Regions from separate parts of the Homo sapiens genome. Here region 1 is linked to region 2. The links are contacts of gene promoters, found by promoter capture Hi-C in human tissues and cell types (Jung and others, 2019). All regions are on one chromosome and are shown on one strand. Each heading gives the region's core, a stretch centred on a gene start or on the middle of the fragment in contact. The rest is flanking DNA. Distances are from core to core; before and after follow the strand shown.

Evidence for each region. The method cuts DNA at HindIII sites, captures the fragments that hold promoters and counts their contacts. A contact is called where the count stands out against the background at its distance.
Region 1: a fragment that was not itself captured here is called in contact with the fragment with the promoter of RBM24 in region 2 in 3 of the 25 tissues and cell types used here (hippocampus, mesendoderm cells and thymus).

The regions. Positions count from the first base shown.
Region 1 is chr6:17,346,340-17,353,745 of GRCh38, forward strand. No RefSeq gene overlaps it. Among named protein-coding and RNA genes, the nearest start is that of CAP2, 44 kb to the right of the region's middle. The HindIII fragment of the contact is 4,376 bases long and covers 389-4,764 here.
Region 2 is chr6:17,275,201-17,282,779 of GRCh38, forward strand. RBM24 (RNA binding motif protein 24) reads left to right here and starts at 6,161. Exons shown (of 4, transcript NM_001143942.2): 1 at 6,161-6,549. The coding sequence starts at 6,382. The HindIII fragment of the contact is 10,579 bases long and covers 1-7,579 here.

The DNA of each region.
Region 1 (7,406 bases), core at 1,327-3,826, 68 kb after region 2:
CCTTGGCCTCCCAAAGTGCTGGGATTACAGGCATAAGCCACCGTGCGCCCAGCCTGCATATCTTTCAGTAGAGATAGTATGGAAATATGCTTTTCCCCATAGGCTTCATTCCCTACCTCTGCTGGATGTGAGGCACTATGCTAGATCTTAGGGATACAAAAAGGACTCCGATACGACCTTTCCCTAAAGAGCTCATGATCTTAGGAACCTGCAAGAGGAATGAGAAAGGTGAAGGGCCCTGATTTAGGTAGATGTCAACTCTGCCCATCTAAGGGAGAGAAAGGTAGGGAGGGTGGTGATTTAAATTAAATGAAGCCTCTCCTCTTGTTCATTCTGTCTTCTCTAAACAATCTTTAGCAGAAGGCAAAGTGATAGCTTTATGTTCAGAAGACTGAGAAAACAAATTTTGACTCAGCTATTTACCCATTTGCATCTCAATTTCTTTATCTGTAAAAAGGATGATAGTAATACCCATCCTCTAGAATTATGACAAGGTACATAGTAAAATAGAGCCCCTAACATGTGCGTTTTAGGGGGAGGAGAATGTACTATTCTCCAGGTGGACTTCAGTGAATTTGATTTTCCTTATGTTTATCCAGCCTAGTTTTTCTCCCTCAAACAATTTGTCCTTCAAGGCTAAGATAAAACTTCCATCAACACCCTTCCTCTTGTGCCTCTCAGATCTGGTGGCTTCCAGGGCTGCTGGCAACACAAACCCCTTAGAAATCACAAGAGTGAAGCATAGGTTAGGGGAGTGGGGTTGGGGTGGCTCAGTAGGGTGTGTGGAGTAGGGAGATGGAAAGAAGGTTGTATCTGCAATCACTGCAGGCTCCTCAGCTGTGATTGGGATGTGGCTTCCAGCTCTTCTGTCTATAAAACAGACGACTAATACAGAGCCTTCAGACTCAGCACTCGGTTTTCACTCCATCCTCACTTCTCATCTCCCACTATGAGGGCACAAACCAGGGCTTCTTTAGCATGGTTTAAGCAAGTGCCATGCCCTCCACTTAGAATAATTGGACACTTCATAATTCTTTTTTATTATAAATAATGATGATTCTCTTCATTATAGAAAGAATACATGTTATTTTTAATCAAAAAAATTGAAATACACTTTTTATTATTTTGAAGCTTCACCATCTTCTAAATGCAAGCACGTAAGTGAATTGTTGAAAGAAGTTTTGATTTTTTTTTTTTTTTTGAGACGGAGTCTCGCTCTGTTGCCAGGCTGGAGTGCAGTGGTGCAATCTCGGCTCACTGCAACCCCCACCTCCCAGGTTCAAGCAATTCTCCTGCCTCAACCTCCTGGGTAGCTAGGACTACAGGTGCCTGCCACCACACCCAGCTAACTTTTTGTATTTTTAGTAGAGACGGGGTTTTACCATGTTGGCCAGGATGGCCTTGATCTCTTGACCTCGTGATCAGCCTGCTTTGGCCTCCCAAAGTGCTGGGATTACAGGCATGAGCCAACGCGCCCGGCCGAAATATATATTTTTTTAATTAGCTTAGTGCAGTGGTGCGTGCCTGTAGTCCCAGCTACTTGGGAGCCTGAGGCAGGAGGATTGCTTGAGCCCAGTCGTTCGAGGCTACAATGAACTATGTTCTTGCCACTGTACTCTAGACTGGACAACAAACTGAGACCCTGTCTCTGAAAATAAAACATAAAAATAAATAAAGAAAAAATTAACAAAAAAGCAAAAAGTTTCTAGTTTAATGATTTGCTAAAATTAAATAGATAAATATCAATATTTCATCACCACTGTCTCATGAAAACTTTTTTTTTTTGGCTTAAGCTTTTAAGCATCACAATAATAATAGTTGTATTCGGAAGATTCATTTGCATCATGTCAGGTATGTTGGTTGGATATATATATTGTGTATATTTAGTGTGACATTATTTTTAATACCCACAAAGTTGGGAAACAGTGAATAAACATTATGTCAAGAACATTATTATTTTTTTTTTTTTGAGACGGAGTCTCCCTCTGTTGCCCAGGCTAGAGTGCAGTGGTGGGATCTCGACTCACTGCAACCTCCACCTCCCGGATTCAAGGGATTCTACTGCCTCAGCCTCCCGAGTAGCTGGGAATGTAGGTGCTTGCTACCACGCCTGGCTAATATTTTATATTTTTAGTAGAGACGGGGTTTCACTGTGTTAGCCAGGATGGTCTCAATCTCCTGACGTTGTGATCCACCCGCCTTGGCCTCCCATAGTGCTGGGATAACAGGCGTGAGCAACCATGCCGGGCAGGTCCAAGATTATTTTTAAAAGACATCTTGGGCCAGGTGCGGTGGCTCATGCCTATAATCACAGCACTTTGAGAGGCTGAGGTAGGCGGATGACGAGGTCAGGAGTTCAAGACCAGCCTGGTCAACATAGTGAAACCCCATCTCTACTAAAAATACAAAAATTAGCTGGGCATTGTGGCACATGCCTGTAGTCCCAGCTACTTGGGAGGCTGAGGCGGGAGAATGGTGTGAACCCGGGAGGCAGAGCTTACAGTGAGTGGAGATCGTGCCACTGCACTCCAGCCTGGGTGACAGAGCGAGACTCTGTCTCAAAAAAAAAAGACATCTTGGCCTGGCACGGGGGCTCATGCCTCTAATCTCAGCACTTTGGGAGGCCGAGGCAGGAGGATTGCTTGAAGCCAGGAGTTTGAGACCAGCCTAGGCAACACAGTGAGACTCAGTCTCTAAAAAAATTAAAAAATTAGCTGGGCATGCTGGCACACACCCATGGCCCCAGCGACTCAGGAGGCTGAGGAGGGAGGATCGCTTTAGCCTGGGAGGTCAAAGCTGCAGTAAGCTATGATCACACCAGTGCACTCCAGCGGGGGTGACAGAGTGAGACTCGTCTCAAAAAAAAAAAAAAAAAAAAGACATCTGAACTCACAAATCAACTCCATTGTGGAGGTGATCAAATTATAGAAGAAACATTTGCACACTTACCACTAGTTCTGTGGTCTTCTTTGTCTGTCTCTGGTGCTCCACCATATATCACTTTCTCAAGGATAAATGTGCACAGCTGAGACTTTGTCCTGCTCACACACTGAGATGTAGAATAGAGGAAATTATTCACGTGGGTCAGCTATTTGGGGCTTTTAAATGATCAGATTACTTATCTATAGAAAATTTTACCCTGAATTACCTAAATATCTGCCTTGGTGCTTTGATTCATTTTATAAGTGTACCCACAAGGGAAGATTGAGTCATAGTTAAAAGAATGTTTGTTTATCTGCTTATGTGGTACACTAAAACAGGGTGGCATCTTTATCCAAATCTGAGTTGCTTGGCAACTGAATCAGCTTTCCATTTCTAGTTAACCAGCTGTGAATGGAACCTTACAGAGTCCAAGAATCACACTAATACTCACGTATTCATGGGAGGCCTAGAACCAAGGTCAGTAACTGAGCTACAATCTCAATAGAATCTATATTTCCCGCATTTATTATTTAGAATTCATAGGCTCCCAGATTTGAAAGAGGTCTTACATGTATTGGAAAAGGCCTTACTTTTTTTTGAGATGGAGTATTGCTCTTTCGCCCAGGCTGGAGTGCGGTTGCGCGATCTTGGCTCACTGCAACCTCCGCCTCCCGAGTTCAAGTGATTTTCCTGCCTCAGCCTCCCAAGTAGCTGAGATTACAGGTGCCCACTACCACGCCTGGCTAATTCTTGTATTTTTAGTAAAGATGGGGTTTCACCATGTTGGCCAGGCTGGTCTCGAACTCCTGACCTCGTGATCTGCCCGCTTTGGCCTCCCAAAGTGCTGGGATTACAGGGGTGAGCCACCGTGCCCGGCCAGAAGAGGCCTTACATATTAATCTAAGTGCCATCCTGTAGTTAACTTCACTGTGGAGTTATGGGCCAACCTCGGCATGGACATCTGCCAATTTTAGTTCTAGCATACTCGAATTTTAACAGATGATGATGTTTCAAACTATTAACCATGTGCCTATTTCAACATTTTTTTGTTTTCTGATTTTTTAAAAGGACATCCATTATGTTTTCAGTGAAGAAAATCACTATTGCTTATTCCATCTTTGGACAGTTTTTACTCATAACAGTTATTCCTTATAATGGGACAAAATCTGTCTATTAATTCTCCCAGACAATCATAGTTTATCTCTTGGTGCCTTGTAGATCAAATGTAATACCCTTCCCATAAGACAGGTTAGCAATATGTTATCCTCATCTAAGTTTTTCATTCAGGCTAAATTTTCCCAATTTCTTCAATCAAACCTCATACATAGTGTCAAGTCCCTTCACTACTCTGATCAGTCATCTCTCAACTCAAATTCATTTTTGTGTGTTGTTTTTGAACCAGGACTCTGGAAGTAGAATGCAACCTTCCAGAAATGACAGAGTGAATTGGGACCATGTCCTAACTTGAAGAATACCATTCTCTTATGAATGCAACTCAAGATTGCATGACCTGCTTGATACAAACAATCTCTAAAGTTGATAGGTATTGGGTTTATTGAAGATGAAAACCTCTGTCACTTAAACATAGTCTCCTCCACCGTGTTCATACACTTTGGGATTTTTCTGGACCCAAAACAAGACCTTAAATTTATCCTGCTAAATTCCATTCTATTTAATTCTGTCCCTCGTATCAATATATCAAAATCTCTAGATTCTTTCCTACATATATCCTTTCTTTCAGCTTGGTGTCTTGCAAATATATGATGTGCCACACCTTTTATACATTTACCCAAGTAGATGACAAAAAAATTTAAGTAGATAACAAGGATAGTCTTATGCTAAGCCTTGAAACTTAATGCTAGTGATCCATTAATCTACCCCTTGATTATTGCCATTGAATCGGTTACTCATCCTTATGTCTAGCCCATAATCCTCTACTTCATGAGGAACAAACTATGAAGAACCTTATCAAATACCTTGCAGGAACCAGAAAAAGAGAAATAAAATATATTGGCTACCTCTTGCATTCAGTTATCTTTATATCACCTCATTTAATTAATTTGTGTTTTTTTAAACAAAGATCTAGTGAGTACTTATTATATGTCAGGTGCTATTCTAGGCTCTGGGTATATGCAGCAAAACTTCTTTTTTTTGGTATTATCATACATTCAAGTATCCTCATTTTGCAGAGTAAGAAAATGAGACTCAGAAATGTGAACTACCTCACAAAGTGAATATATACTGTAATAGCATCAGAGCCAGGATCCACACTTAACCATGTAAATTTCTTTTTCACTGATGGATTTCATCTCTGAGGTACACACCCACTGTAGCTACCTAATCCTCAACCACTTCAGTTTTTCAGCTTTTGCCTTCTATGCATAATACTTTTTTCTTTTTTCTTTTTTTTTGAGATGGAGTCTCACTCTGCCACCCAGGCTGGAGTGCAGTGGTGCGATCTCGGCTCGCTGCAAGCTCCACCTCCTGGGTTCAAGCAATTCTCCTGCCTCATCCTCCCAAGTAGCTGGGACTATAGGTGCATGCCACTGCGCCCAGCTAATTTTTGTATTTTTAGTGGAGACGGGGTTTCACCATGTTGGCCAGGCTGGGTCTCGAACTCCTGACCTCGTGATCTGTCTGCCTGGGCCTCCCAAAGTGCTGGGATTACAGGCGTGAGCCACCGCGCTCGGCCCAATTTTGTCTTTATTATAATCTTTGTCCACAAAGTTTATATCTTAACCCTAAGTAGTGAATAATGTTGGGAATTACATGCATTACAGTAAATTGATAGGAAAAATATTTGGGACAACCAGGCTACTAGTTTATAAGGAATCACTAGTCTTCCGTGTTTTCCTTGATGCAACTCATTTTCTGGTTCTATTGTTATCCCCTTACCGTGCATCCACCTCCCTCAAAATGAACAAAATCTCCCAAGGTGGGGACAGGTAAGGCAAAGCATATTCAATTTCATATCTATAAGTAATAAAATGTGCCTCAATTATAGTGAGTTATTGTCTATATCATAATCCAAAGTCATGCCTTGGAGAAGAGGATGAAGGTTAAGGATTTCCAGGGCTAGCTTTTAGTTCCCAAAGAAACATTAAAGTTGTGTTTAATGCAAAAGATACCAGCAAAGCAGTTCAGAATCTCATATATCTCTTTATTCTTTTATAAAAAATTGCTGAGACAGGATCTCACTCTGTTGTCCAGGCTGGAATGCAGTGGTGTCATCATGACTCACTGCAGCTTCAAACTCCTGGGCTCAAGTGATCTGCCCACCTCAGCCTCCCTGGGACTGCAGGCACATGCCACCAAGTCCAGCTAATTTTATTTATTTAAACTTTTTCCAGAGATGGTGGTCTCACTAGGTTGTTCAGGCTATTCTCATACTGTTGATCTCAAGCAATCCTCCTGCCTCAGCCTCCCAAAGTGCTGGGATTATAGGTGTGAGCCACCTTATGTAGCCTTATTTGTCTTTATTCTTTTAGGTGTCAAAATTCAGTTTATGTCCTTCATCTTTCTCAATTATTCTTTTTTCCCTAACAAAAATCATAATTAACTGGATTTTTTTTTTTGTTTGATGGAGTCTTGCTGTGTCACCAGGCTGGAGTGCAATGGTGTGATCTCGGCTCACTGCAACCTCTGCCTCCCGGGTTCAAGCGATTCTCCTGCCTCAGCCTCCCAAGTAGCTGGGACTACAGGCGCCCACCGCCACACCCAGCTAATTTTTGTATTTTTAGTAGAGACGGGGGTTTCACCATGTTGGCCAGGATGGTCTTGATCTCTTGGCCCACCTTGGCCTCCCAAAGTGCTGGGATTACAGGTGCCCAGCCTAACTGGATTTTTTAAAAGTAACTAAAATTTGGGTCATTTTTTTTTAGTAAAAGTAAAAGGCATAACAAAAAGGGAGCCTCCCGACCTTTTGAGTCTCTTTGTGCCTCTCAGAAACAATTGTAGATAATAGTTACCTGCATGCTCTCCACACCTAATTCTCTATGCACATATGTATATGTATGTGTATATTTTTTGGACAACTTTACATATTAGGGCAACTTGTCACATTCTTTTTAATATGTGCATTATATACTCCTGTACAAATGTAGTACTATATTTGATTTAACCAGATTCCTACTGATGGATATTTAGCTCTTTTCCAAATGTTCACAATGAAAAGCAATTATTTTAACTTAACTGATCAAAGCATACTTATAAGGCACATACTAAATGCCAAGCTGTGTTCTAAGCACTTTATAAAAGTGCGCTCATTTAATCTCTAAAATAACCCATTGAGGTAGGTTTTAATATTATCATCCCTGTTATACAGATGAGAACACCGAGGATAGAGTGAAGTAACTTGTCACTGGTCACACTGCTAGTGAAAGTCAGAATCCAACCTTGTTCTGGCTCAAGACTCCATGCCAACCTTTGGTAGGCTTTGATGCCTCTCTGTTGCTGCAACTCAGTTGTCTATTCCCAAAGTAGAT
Region 2 (7,579 bases), core at 4,911-7,410:
GACAGATGCTGACAAGGTTGCAGAGAAAAGGAAACCCTTATACACTGCTGATGGGAATGTAAATTAGTTCTACCATTGTGGAAAGCAGTCTGGCAATTTCTCAAAGAACTTAAAACAGAACTACCTTTTGACCCCACAATCCCATTATTGGGTACATACCCAAAAGAATAAAAATCATTCTACCATAAAGACACACGCACACATGTGTTCACTGCAGCAATATTCACAATAGCAAAGACACAGAATCAACCTAAATGCCCATCAAGAGTAGACTGGGTAAAGAAAATGTGGTACATATACACCATAGAACACTACACAGTCATAAAAAAAGAATGAGATCATGTCCTTTGCAGCGACATGGGTGGAGCTGGAAGCCATTATGCTAAACGAATTAACTCAGGAATAGAAAACCAAATACTGCATGTTCTCACTTATAAGTGAGAGCTAAACACTGAGTACACATGGACACAAACGAGGGAACAATAGACACTGGGGCCAACTTGACGGTGGTGGGAATATAAATTAGTTCAACCACTGTGGATAGCAGTGTGGCTATTTCTCCCTAGGAGGAGGGAGAGGACCAAAAAACTACCTATCATGTGCTGTGCTTACTACTTGGTGATAACCTGTACACCAGACACCCATGACAAGCAATTAACCTCTATAACAAAGCTGCACATGTACCCCTGAACCTAAAATAAAAGTTTCTTAAAAAAAGATTTATTGGCCGGGCACAGTGGCTGACGCCTGTAATCCCAGCACTTTGGGAGGCCGAGGCGGGCAGGTCACCTAAGATCAGGAGTTTGAGACCAGCCTGGCCAACATGGTGAAACCCCGTCTCTACTAAAAATACAAAAATTAGCTGGGCGTGGTGGCAGGGGCCTGTAATCCCTACTACTAGGGAGGCTGAAGCAGGAGAATCGCTTGAACCCAGGAGGTGGAGGTTGCAGTGAGCCCAGATCGCACCATTACACTCCAGCCTGGGCAACAAGAGCAAACTTCTGTCTTAAAAAAAAAAAAAAAAAAATATATATATATATATATATATATATATATCTGCAAAGGTATTAATTTCAGAGCCCTTTATAACTGCGAAAACTTGGAAAAATATAAATATCCAACAAAAAGAGACTGCATAAATAAACTTGGGGACAATGACATGTTAAAATGCTATTCAAATTGTAGAAACAATTTAAAACAAGGAAAAATATTCACTATATATACTAGTAGTTTTTTTAAAAAGCTGATAAAAGCTGTACTTTCCTTTTGTAACACTTACGTGTGTATATTTATGTATAAGAAAAGCCTGGAATTAGATACTCTAAAATGTCAACAGTTATTTTAAGGAGTAGAAAGAATTGTGGGTAATTTTTATTTTCTTCTTTGTATATCTTTATGTTTTCATAACTTTCTATCATGAATATGCCTTTCCTTTGTTATCAGAGAAAATATCAATCTTACAAAATGATCTCAAATGGCTTAAATTAAAAAGTTAATAAGCAACACTCAAGTATTAACATTAAGCCATCTTTGAAGTCAGAGGTCACCCTCTATAGACATCTTTAAATAAAGGGTCACGCTAGTATCCTCCATTCTAGGATAAGATCATGAGTATTTTTCTAACCACATTTGTCCTTTTTAATGAAATAAACCAAACAAGGTCTTGGGGCTGGTTAATAACTGCCTGGACTAGACTCTAGGTCTCCTGTCTTGAGATCCAGGACTATTTCCATCACCCGGTGCCCTCTGCCCAGCCCACAAGCAACAGCATTAGAATGTATTTGTCATCCAGAGAGAGGTCATTCAATACATTTGGAGAGTATCATCAGTTCCCTAAAAATAACTTGGCAGCTCAGAAGCTCACTGTTTAAAAGACTTAAAACCAAAGGACACCCTGAGTTTAAAATGTGAACAAGCACACAGTGGGTTTAAAATGTTTGCATTCTCTTTCTTGCCTTTCGGGTTTACATAATAGAAATTAAAGTGTGCATACACTTAAAGCTACTTCTACACAGGCAGGGTGAAATTACTGGCACGGTGACACTGGCAATGAACATTTTTGTCCCTCGACACTTTGATTTTTGCCCTTGCCTGTCCCTCAAATAATCCTGCTCTGCTTTCTGTTTTTTGGATTTTCAGTGTAAAAGAGACATTATGACTTTAATGACTGAATAACAGGCACAAATTTGCATTTCACTTTATTTACCAGCTTAGCTGTGGTTTAATGCAACATGAATAGAATTCCCCCAGAGGTGAGTCTGAGCTGAACTGACTAGGTTTTTGACTGCCAATTCTTCTGCACACTAAAATAGCAGCATAACCTATCACACACATTTGTTATCTGTTACTGAGAGAGAATTAGCAACCCACCCAAAGAAACAGAAATACAGCTGATGACGGGACTTCTCAAAAGGCCAGAAAACCTGTTGGTTTTACATCAAAATGCTCACACAGATACTCAAAAGAAGATAAAATATTTCCAAACCACCAAAACAAAAGACTTCACTGAAGCCATATTTTTGTTTAAAAAAAAAAAACAAAAAAGTGCCCAGCCTCAAAAAAAAAAAAAAAGTGCCCACTTTATAGGTCGTCAATTCTAATCAAGAATGCATTTCTTCCCATCAAGCTTGAAGGCAGGCATCTTTAAAACATCAATTTTTTTTCAGTAAATATTTCTTTAGTGCCAAGTATATGTAGAACCCTCTGAAGGGTTTTAATAACCAGCAGGAGATCCAGTGACACCTAAGAGTGTCACCCTGCTCTCAGGTGGCTTATTGTCCAAAGCAATATTATCTCTGGGGTACAAAGCCCAAAAGAGTGCTTCTCAATCTTCATGAAATATTTCTCTCTTTTTTCAAAATTATTCTAAAAGGCTGTGAGCCTGAAGTTGATTTCCATGATTAATTTAAGAGGCAAGGGGAGAAGAGAAGACAGTTATACATGAATGTGAAACTTGTGAGTTTGGTTCTGGCCTTTATAGTCAGATAAAGATTTTGAACAAAGTGGACAATAATTTACAGTAAGTAATAAAATAATATTGATCTTGCCATGGAGTAGGAACCAAAACTTCAGGCCCATCCATATGTACTAATTTGGAGATGACAACCTTGTGGAACCTATTTATAACTTTTACAGTATTTTATGGTTCTTTCTTTCCAAAGAAGCACACATTATATTGCACAAGGCCTGTGAATATACAAGTATTCTCTGCCAAAAGCAGCTGACAAAGCAAAAGGATTATCCAAGCATTGTTTTTCAAACCTGAATTTGTAATGAGTAATTGTACAGAAATATTCGGTACTTAACCTTGAAACCTTGAATTCAGAAAAACTTTATGGCCCCAAGGCTACATGATTTGATGGCTCAGATTCGTAAATCCACCAAGAATGAGGATCTGGCCATTTTAACTGTGTCCACCTTGGTGCAAATGTAAAACAAAACCCACAGGGGCAGCAATGATGCCTACCACAGTGCTTGCCTGGGCGAAGGGAAGGGGGTCTTGATGAAAGTTTGTTGAGATGAACTGGGTATGAATTCTGGCTTCCGTTTAAATACGTTTGGAAAATAAGGAATCTCCATCCCTCTTAACCTTTGTTCTCAGTGACTCACGTAATACCAGTGTATTAGTAATGTTTTAATTATCCCTGGAATTCAAAATTAGGGACCGTCCAGGCAAAGTTTCAGGCAAAGTGATCAAGTATTTACTGTTCCCTTGAAAGAATAAAAACACTGCAGTCAGGGGTTGCACGGGATGGGAGGGACAATGACAAGGAGGCGTCTTATTTCCAGAAGCTGAGTTCTAGGACACAAGTATTCCAACCCGGGATCAGAATTTCCTTGTAGATCTCACCACTTTACCTAGTGAACATCCTAGCTGCTGGCTACACTCCCAGACACCCTCCTTCCCTGATATTATCACAGTCCTCTCCAGGGTGGGCTCCCAATCCAGGTAGGAAGAAAGGCGAGACAGCCAAAGGCGCCCTTCTAAGGCTTCTCTCTAAGCAGCTTCCCTTCACAAAAGGGTTTTGCCTGAGCCTCATCTACGTACAGTAATTCTTAAATGACACAAGATGGATGTTGAATATTAAAAAACACGCCTCTTCTCTTTCCCCGCCTGCTTTGTTTTTCTAACTTTTAAAAATTATCTTTCATCATACCAGCACAGAGAGTCGTTTTTGAACCTGTCCTTTAACTTAAGTAATGAAGAGAGGGTGTTTACAATTTCACTTTCTGGCTCTCATCTGTCTGTAAAATTCTTTATTATTTTTTTAATCGGGTGAAAAAAATGTTTTTAACTTTAATAGATTTCTGATTTCTCTATATCTCCCACTGGGGGTTCAAACTTAAAGAAACCAGTGACGTCAAAAAGTCAACCTCATGAGGAAGTCAGCAAGATGAAAAACGGAATTTAATGTTTTGCACAAGAATATTTGCATTCCCATTAGCCTTTGCAAATGCAACATTTCTCACCCTCTTGGGTTGACTGCAAAGGTGTCCTGGAGAGAAACAGAGTATGCACCTCTCTAACGGTTAACATACTGAATTGTTTTAATGGAATAAATGGTGCGGCTCAGGGGCGATTAATGTAGGGACTGTAGACTCCCGTAGAAAGGACTTAAAAGGCAATTGTGCACCAACAATGGTGGATGAAACCTTCTGCTCACATCAAATATTTTCATCCAAACCTCAAGTATGACTGATTGATTTTAAGGCCTAATTGAATGAATTCTCAATTAAAAGAAGTTGCAAAAAGCTGATGTAAAGTAATAAATATATATGGGGTGCCCTATGTTCTACAAATGCTTTCAGGTCTGCTGGTAGAAACCACTGGTTATGCAATAAGTTGATTTCAAAAATTATACCTTTTACATTTACATCCAGATAAAAACAGATGAGGTCAAGCCACTAAACATTCTTGTAATTCAAAGAGAAAGAAATAGATTAATTCTTTGTTTAGGGAAAAAAAAAAAAAAAGAACGACTTATGCTAAGACATCTGTACCAATCTTCCTGAATAACTAAGTTAGGGAGGAAAGACAAATTTGGTGACTGTGGGGGCTAAAATACTAACTTATGGTCCTCTGAAATAGAAGGCGGTGCCTGATGGACATAGGTATCTCCGGTTACTTGGTTTGGCTGGGCGGTAGCAATTAAAGCTAATGGTTTTCCCAACTACACCCAAGCGCTAGATCTTTCTTTTCCTTCTGGCTCTACCTCTCTGATACTTCCCCGCACTGGCTTTTTGGGGCCAAAGAAAGTTGGGGCCCTCCTTCTCACTCTTCAGACCCCAGGGTGTCCAGCTTGGGTTTCGTTCGGCCGAGCTCCTTGACCCCCCGCGCCCGGGAGGGGATTGGCCTCTCAGCGAATCGCCCCAGGCCTCTGGGGACCCCAGTTCGCCAGTCCAGGTCGCCGGCCCTGTCACCGAGGCCTAACCCAAAAAGCTCGCGTCGTCCCCTCTGGAAAGCAACGCAGCTTCCTCCTTGGGCACAGTCCCCGCACCCTGGGTCCCGGCTGGTGCTGCGCCGGGTCCCTAAGACTTTGACTGGTTAGAGCAGGCGACGCCGAGAGCCAGGCCGCCTACAGGCGTCTCCAGCCCTACCCCATCGCCGGCTACAGAGCGGGAGCCCCGAGCCCCAGCGCCGCGCCGCGCGGGGAGAGAAGCAGCTGTTCCCAACAGCTGGGGGGCGGCGGCGCCCGGCGCCCCAGGTGCTGCCGCGGCCAATCGCAGGCGTCCGGCCCGCCCCCCTCCCCAGCCGGGCGTCGACCCCCGGCCCGCGGGGGAAGGGAGCAGAGAGGTGGAGAGCTGTCCTCGGCACTCGTCTTCCAGATCCCACGGCGGGAGGGACAGACCAGAGCCGAAGCTGCGCGGAGTTCCTCGCCCCTGGCCCCGCCGCCGCGCCCCCCGCCCGCTTCGGCGCTCGGACGCTCTTCCCGCGGACCCTCCCCACACCCCACCCAAGGCACCTGATTCCTAAGGAAGAAAAATCTACCTCTAAAGCACCCGCTTCTTCGCTTGAGAACTACCCTCTCTTTTCATTTTTGGCCTCCCCGCCGGGTGAGTGGAAACCGCTTGCACATTCTATAGAACCCGATTCTAATCCAGACGATCCGGAGAATTTGTACGGTGACCGGCAGGGGGGGCGGGAGGAGAGAGCGAAGTCAAGTCTCCAGGGCCGCTGGCGACTTCGGAAGCCGCGCGCCCGGCGCTCTCGGCCGCCCCCGGCCGCTCGCCCCCGCCGCGCCGCCGCCCTCGCCCCCGGGCTCGCCCTTGGCCCCCGGCGGCCGCGAAAGGGTGCGGGAGACGCGGAGCCGGAGGAGGAGGCGCAGCCGCTGCCCGAGCCGCAGCCGCAGCCGGAGCCCGAGCCGCGGGGCGGGTGCGAAGATGCACACGACCCAGAAGGACACGACGTACACCAAGATCTTCGTCGGGGGGCTGCCCTACCACACCACCGACGCCAGCCTGCGCAAGTACTTCGAGGTCTTCGGCGAGATCGAGGAGGCGGTGGTCATCACCGACCGGCAGACGGGCAAGTCCCGGGGCTATGGATTTGTAAGTTGCACGGACTGGGGGTGACGGGGAGGGACGGAGTGGCGGCTGACCCCGGGGATCGGGAGCTTGGAGTGAGGGGCTCGGCGTGACCCGTGAGGAGCCCCGCGGGTAGAGCGGCGCTGCCCCTTCGCTCCGGGGTGAACTGAAACTTTGCTAGGGGAGAGGGTCGGCGCCAGCCTCGCGGGGTTCGGAGAAGACCCAGCGCTGTGCGAGGTCGGGGGCCGGGCAGGGCAGAGCAGGGGTGAAAGGAGAGACCTGTAATGACGGCGGGATTTGGGGTGCGGAGGGTTGCGAGGGAGGGGCCGCAACCCTGAACAATTGCATTCCCGGGCTGGATGCCGGTTGTTAAGCGCGCTGTTGCTTTGTAAAAATGCGTGTGTTCTGGTGTTTTGGCTGGGGCAGGGAGGGGACACCCCACGAGGTCTGGGGCTGTTGCCCTTGTGTCATCCCCCCGCCTTTTAACTGCAAAGGTAGGTTCTTTTAAATCATGATCCTAGGGCTCTTTGCCGAACTGAAACAGAGCATATTAAGCTTCCTTCCTAGAGATTTAAGCGTGCAAATTCAGCTGCCGAAGAGCAGGGAGCCCCAGAGTAGGACAATAGCTATTGTCGTTGGGGAGTGTTTTCGAGGTTGGGAGCGTTGGGCGGATGTAAGGCTGGACTTTCTTTAAAGCAAACGGTGCCTCTGAGGCTGAGTAGGGACCTGGGGGGCGGGGGATTCGGGGGAAGGAGGATCTAGAGTTCCAAGAATTTAGGCTTCCAAATCTCGGCTAGGCCCTACTAACACCCTTAAGATTTCGGCGGTGGGGTGGGGGGAGGCAGGGTTAGAGGGTTTCTTTCTTTTTTCCTTCGTCTACCCGCCCCCCCCCCCCACGCCCCCGCCCGCCTGTTAAAAATGGGAGATCAAGGAGGAGGGTCCAGCCAAAAGAAGCAAAGAATAGAAAAAAAGTTTGATCTCAGTTTTATCATGAATGACTTCTCCATTGTGATTCTTGATTTCCTTCATGGGTTAATTTAGAGGTTATGTATGT